2 separate regions of the Homo sapiens genome follow, and region 1 is linked to region 2. Evidence: promoter capture Hi-C in human tissues and cell types (Jung and others, 2019). All regions are on one chromosome and are shown on one strand. The core of a region is centred on a gene start or on the middle of the fragment in contact, and the rest is flanking DNA. Distances in the headings are between cores, read along the strand shown. Region 1 overlaps LINC01389 (long intergenic non-protein coding RNA 1389). Region 2 holds the start of FOXD2 (forkhead box D2).

Region 1 (2,700 bases), core at 182-2,681, 39 kb before region 2:
TTCAGGCTGGTTTCCATAGAGAAAGGTTTGGGGCCTTGTTGGCTGCTCTAAGCTAACTTGCCAGGGTCCCAACTAGACCCCTCTGCCCCACCCCCAAATTATAGACTCACTCCCACCTCTTCCCCATCACTGAGCTGTAAAGGACAGTCCAGCTTCTCCCAGGGCAGAAGCCCTTCTACAGCCTCCCTCACCGGTCCCCCAGCTCTGCCTGTAGCCCCATAAATGGGAGCTGGGGTTGCTGTGTCCCTCACAAAGTGCTTTCCTGACACCTCCCCTCAATATTCCAACAATGACCTCATTGGACTCCTCTTCCTCATCTCAATTAATAACGTGATAAAATAATGATAAATGACATTTGCAGATCACTTATATGTCAGACCTCATGCTAAGCTTTTACTATGTATCACCTCATTTAATCATCTGAATGACATCACAGGCAGGTACTATTATCCTTATTTTACAAATGAGGAAACTGAAGCTCAGAGAGGCTAACTTACTCAGAGCCACACAGATAGTCATAATTGCAGAAATAGAGCTCAAACCTAGGAGTATCTGATGTCCAAGTCTAAGAATGTGAAACGGTCTTGAAATGTGCAGTTTAAGTCCTGCCTCCTCCAGAAGGCCTTCTCCAATCATGTTTGGCTCCCGCACCAAACTTTCACAGAAAACCGAACTCCAATGGCTTAAACATTTTTTTTTTATTTTTGAGACAGAGTCTCGCTCTGTCGCCCGGGCTGGAGTGCAGTGGTGCGATCTTGGTTCACTGCAAGCTCTGCCTCCCGGGTTCCCGCCATTCTCCTGCCTCAGCCTCCCAAGTAGCTGGGACTACAGGCGCCTGCCACCACGCCTGGCTAATTTTTTGTATTTTTAGTAGAGATGGGGTTCCATCATGTTAGCCAGGATGGTCTTGATCTCCTGACCTCGTGATCTGCTCGCCTCGGCCTCCCAAAGTGCTGGGATTCCAGGCATGAGCCACCACCCCCGGCTGGCTTAAACCTTTAGGATATTATTTGTTTACTTAACAAGAAGTCCTTCTAGAGATGGTGCAGTAACTTAGAGGTAACAGCTCTTTCCATCTTACTATATCATTATCCCAAGGATATAGGCATGGCAGATTGTACTTACCCAATGTAATACTTGGACACAACAATATCTCCCACGCCACTTGCTCTTCCGCAGTGTGACCTTGCCATTCCCTCATCAACAGGTACAGTCTAATTCTCTTTCCTTTGAATCTGGGCTAGCCTTAGTGACTAGCTTAACCAATAGAAGGTGGAGGAAATGACATTTCGAACTTTCAAGGTTAGGTCATAAGTCTTGCAGCAACTGTCTGGGCTTCTTAAAAGTCTCAGTCTGAAAACACTTGCCCTTGAAAACCAGCTGCCATGCTGTGAGACACCTGAGCCATAAGGCGGTGCCCTGGTCAAGAGCTCTGGATGAACTCCTAGGGGATATCCAGCATCAACTGCCAGCAATGTGCGTGAGCCATCTTGGACATCCAGCCCAGCAGAGTCTTTAAATAAGTCTTGGTCAGGCTGCAAGAACATGACAGCCCTCATGTAGGACCCGTCCAGTTGAGCCCAGTCAACCCACAGAACAGTGAAAGATAATAATAAATTGTTTTAAGGTACCAAATTTTGGGGGTGATTTGTAAAGCAGTAATAGATAATTAAAACAATTGGCTTTCTTCTTCTAGCCTGTTGCCTCAAGTTACAAGATGGCTGCTTCAGCTCCAAGCATCATTTCTTTTTTTTTCTTTCTTTCTTTTTTTTTTTTTTTTTTGAGACAGAGTCTCACTCTGTTGCCCAGGCTGGAGTGCAGTGGCACAATCTCAGCTCACTGCAACCTCCGCCTCCCAGGTTCAAGTGATTCTCCTATCTCAGCTTCCCGAGTAGCTGGGACTATAGGCACCTGCCACCACACCCGGCTAATTTTGTATTTTTAGTAGAGATGGGGTTTCACCATGTTGATCAGGCTGGTCTTGAACGCCTGACCTCAGGTGATGCACCCACCTCGGCCTCCCAAAGTGCTGGGATTACAAGCATAAGCCACTGCACCTGGCCTCCAAGCATCACTTCAAACAACCATATCTAAAAGCAGAAGTGAGTACAGAGCAAAGGCTTTCTCCTTGAGTGACTTTAAGAGGGAGGAAAATCTTAACCCAGAAGTCCCCCAGTATTATCTCTGCATATCTCATTGGCCAGAATTGGGTTGTACCCTCTCCTAACCAAGAGAAATGGGCAAAGGAAAAGGAAGAGGGAAATGATTGTTGGGTGGACAACCAACAGTGTCTGCCATACTTGTTGATGTGGTGGCTCTAGGAGAAAAAAGAGTTAGGTGAGAAAATGATCCAAGGCTCAAGAAGGAGCCTTCCCTACTTCCAGAAGCAAAGCTGCCTCAGTGGCAACAAGTCTATTGAAAGCTCCTTCTTTAGATAGACAGCATGGTGTGCTGACTAGAGTTCTGCTCTGGGAGGCAGAACCTGGCTCTAGTGTGGTATAATATTGCTGAGTCAGTTTCGCATTCTGTGCCTCAGTTTCCTCATCTGCACAATGAAAGGATTCCTTCTAATTCATTCAGGTTAGGAGAAGCCAGGGCAGAAGGGAGGTGCTGGATGCTTAGCTTGTGTGTAGGCAGTGAATGGTCCAAGTCAAGCTCAGCAGAGCCTGCCTCTAGCCACAGATGCTAGGATTTGCCAAA
Region 2 (2,700 bases), core at 38-2,537:
TGGAGGGAGGCCGGGGGAGAAAGAGGTCTAATAGGATGGGCAGGAACCCGGCTAGCGAGAAACAAGGCACAGGGCCAACCTTAGTTGCACAAGACTTTTGAGAGATGAAGGCAACACTTGGTGGAGGTCAGGGTTCACTGAGGGGGTGTCGGGCAGGGGGCGGAGGAGGTCCTGCCGCCTGTCGGTGGGGCCCAGAACCCTGGGAGCCAGGAAGGTGGGGGGTGTCCAGTCCTCAGGGCAACTGGGGCCAGGGAGAGGGGAGGGAGAAATTAAGCGGATTCCCAGACCCATGAACAGACATCCAGACAAATGCCGTTTCCACAGAGACTCACGGAGAGTGAGATAGTCACAGAGACTGAGACAAACGGATGCCGAGATCCAGAGGGTCGGAGAACAGGCAAACTCGGAGCAGTAGACCGGCCCGCGCCCCGGGAACGCGGCCACAGCGGCCGGCGCTCTGCCCGGCCTCTCCGCGCGGAGAGGGGTGGCGGGCCCGACAGCGGAGGGAGGAGAGGGCGCCGCCGCAATCTCACCTCTCCCAGGCCCAAGGCTGCGGGCGCCAAGTTCGCTCCTGGTGATCACTCGAATGCGTCTCCCCTCGGGCTGGAAGCCGTGCGGGCTCGGGTGGGCGCCGGCGGGCCGCGCTGGGGCGGCGTGGGTCCCGGCGTCTCAGCCTCGCGCTCCCACTGCGCTTCGGCCCGGTGGCCCGGGCGCCGCCTTGGGGAGAGGACGGGTGGGGACCGCCGCCACTTCCCTGGCTGCGGCTGGCGCCCGAGTGAGCCTTAACATCCAGGGGCTGAGCGTTCTGAAGGCGGCGGCTTCAGGGAGCACAGGGTGCAGGAGCGGCGGCGAAGACAAGGGCCCGCCTCCGGCCACTCGAGCCCAGCTCCCGCCGCGGCGGCGGTTTGTTCCCGCCGGGTCCCTCAGCGGAGGCGCTACGCCCGCCCCTGTCGCCTCGCCCCACCCCGCCCAGGGAGCTCCGCCCTAGCCCGCAGCTCTTCCGCCTTAGGCAGCCGCTAGGCGGGAGGGACAATCCCCCACCACCAACCACTGCCACCCCGAGGGGACTAGGGGCTGAGGCCCGCCCAGGTAAGGGAAAGCCTCAGCTCCTTCCGTTGCGCCCCAGCGGCGGGTCCCAGCTCGGATTCCCGGGGTAGTGGCGGGGGCCGCCGGCGGGTCGTGCCCTGGAAGGTGAGCGCGGCCGAGCTGGGCCGCCAGGGGGCGCTGCGGAGCCGGGGGACACCCCTCCCTGCCTGCCTCAGTCCCCCGCCCCCTCCCCGCCCGCGCGCAAAACGCACTCGCCCCAGAGGCAGCGCGGCCGAGCCCGAGCCGCTGCCGGAGCGGAGCCGGAGAGTGGCGGCGGCGGCGGCAGCGGCACCATGACCCTGGGCAGCTGCTGCTGCGAGATCATGTCCTCCGAGAGCTCCCCGGCCGCGCTGTCCGAGGCCGACGCAGACATAGACGTGGTGGGCGGCGGCAGCGGCGGGGGGGAGCTCCCAGCTCGCTCCGGGCCCCGCGCCCCCCGGGACGTGCTCCCCCACGGCCACGAGCCTCCCGCGGAGGAAGCCGAGGCAGACTTAGCCGAGGACGAGGAGGAGTCTGGTGGCTGCTCGGACGGCGAGCCCCGCGCTCTGGCGTCCCGGGGGGCGGCGGCCGCAGCGGGGAGCCCGGGGCCAGGCGCCGCGGCGGCCCGCGGCGCAGCGGGGCCCGGGCCGGGACCGCCGTCGGGGGGCGCGGCGACGCGGAGCCCGCTGGTGAAGCCGCCCTACTCGTACATCGCGCTCATCACCATGGCCATCCTGCAGAGCCCCAAGAAGCGGCTGACGTTGAGCGAGATCTGCGAGTTCATCAGCGGCCGCTTCCCCTACTACCGGGAGAAGTTCCCCGCCTGGCAGAACAGCATCCGCCACAACCTCTCTCTCAACGACTGCTTCGTCAAGATCCCCCGCGAGCCGGGCAACCCGGGCAAGGGCAACTACTGGACGCTGGACCCGGAGTCGGCCGACATGTTCGACAACGGCAGCTTCCTGCGGCGTCGCAAGCGCTTCAAGCGGCAGCCCCTGCCGCCGCCGCACCCACACCCGCACCCTCACCCGGAGCTGCTGCTGCGTGGCGGGGCCGCGGCGGCGGGGGATCCCGGCGCTTTCCTGCCCGGCTTCGCTGCCTACGGCGCCTACGGCTACGGCTACGGGCTGGCTCTCCCGGCCTACGGCGCACCCCCGCCGGGGCCGGCCCCGCATCCGCACCCGCACCCGCACGCCTTCGCTTTCGCCGCGGCAGCCGCCGCCGCTCCTTGCCAGCTGTCGGTACCCCCAGGCCGCGCCGCCGCGCCTCCACCCGGACCTCCGACGGCCTCGGTGTTCGCAGGCGCGGGATCGGCCCCAGCTCCTGCGCCTGCCTCAGGCTCGGGCCCGGGCCCGGGCCCCGCAGGCCTGCCCGCCTTCCTGGGCGCGGAGCTGGGCTGCGCCAAAGCCTTCTACGCGGCGTCCCTGAGTCCTCCCGCAGCCGGCACCGCGGCGGGTCTGCCCACCGCACTTCTGCGCCAGGGCCTCAAGACGGACGCGGGCGGTGGTGCAGGCGGCGGGGGCGCCGGGGCAGGGCAGAGGCCTTCCTTCTCTATAGACCACATCATGGGCCACGGTGGCGGCGGGGCAGCACCCCCGGGCGCCGGCGAGGGCTCTCCGGGACCGCCATTCGCGG

What was found. The method cuts DNA at HindIII sites, captures the fragments that hold promoters and counts their contacts. A contact is called where the count stands out against the background at its distance.
Region 1: a fragment that was not itself captured here is called in contact with the fragment with the promoter of FOXD2 in region 2 in 2 of the 25 tissues and cell types used here (IMR-90 fibroblasts and neural progenitor cells).

Annotation. Positions count from the first base shown.
Region 1 is chr1:47,397,229-47,399,928 of GRCh38, forward strand. All of the region lies in intron 3 of LINC01389 (long intergenic non-protein coding RNA 1389), which reads right to left. Among named protein-coding and RNA genes, the nearest start is that of FOXE3, 18 kb to the right of the region's middle. The HindIII fragment of the contact is 5,957 bases long and covers 1-2,700 here.
Region 2 is chr1:47,436,757-47,439,456 of GRCh38, forward strand. It overlaps FOXD2 (forkhead box D2), which reads left to right and starts at 1,288. Exons shown (of 1, transcript NM_004474.4): 1 at 1,288-2,700. The coding sequence starts at 1,380. It overlaps LINC01389 (long intergenic non-protein coding RNA 1389), which reads right to left and starts at 561. Exons shown (of 5, transcript NR_126355.1): 1 at 534-561. RefSeq lists silencers at 408-1,307, 1,338-1,517. The HindIII fragment of the contact is 12,527 bases long and covers 1-2,700 here.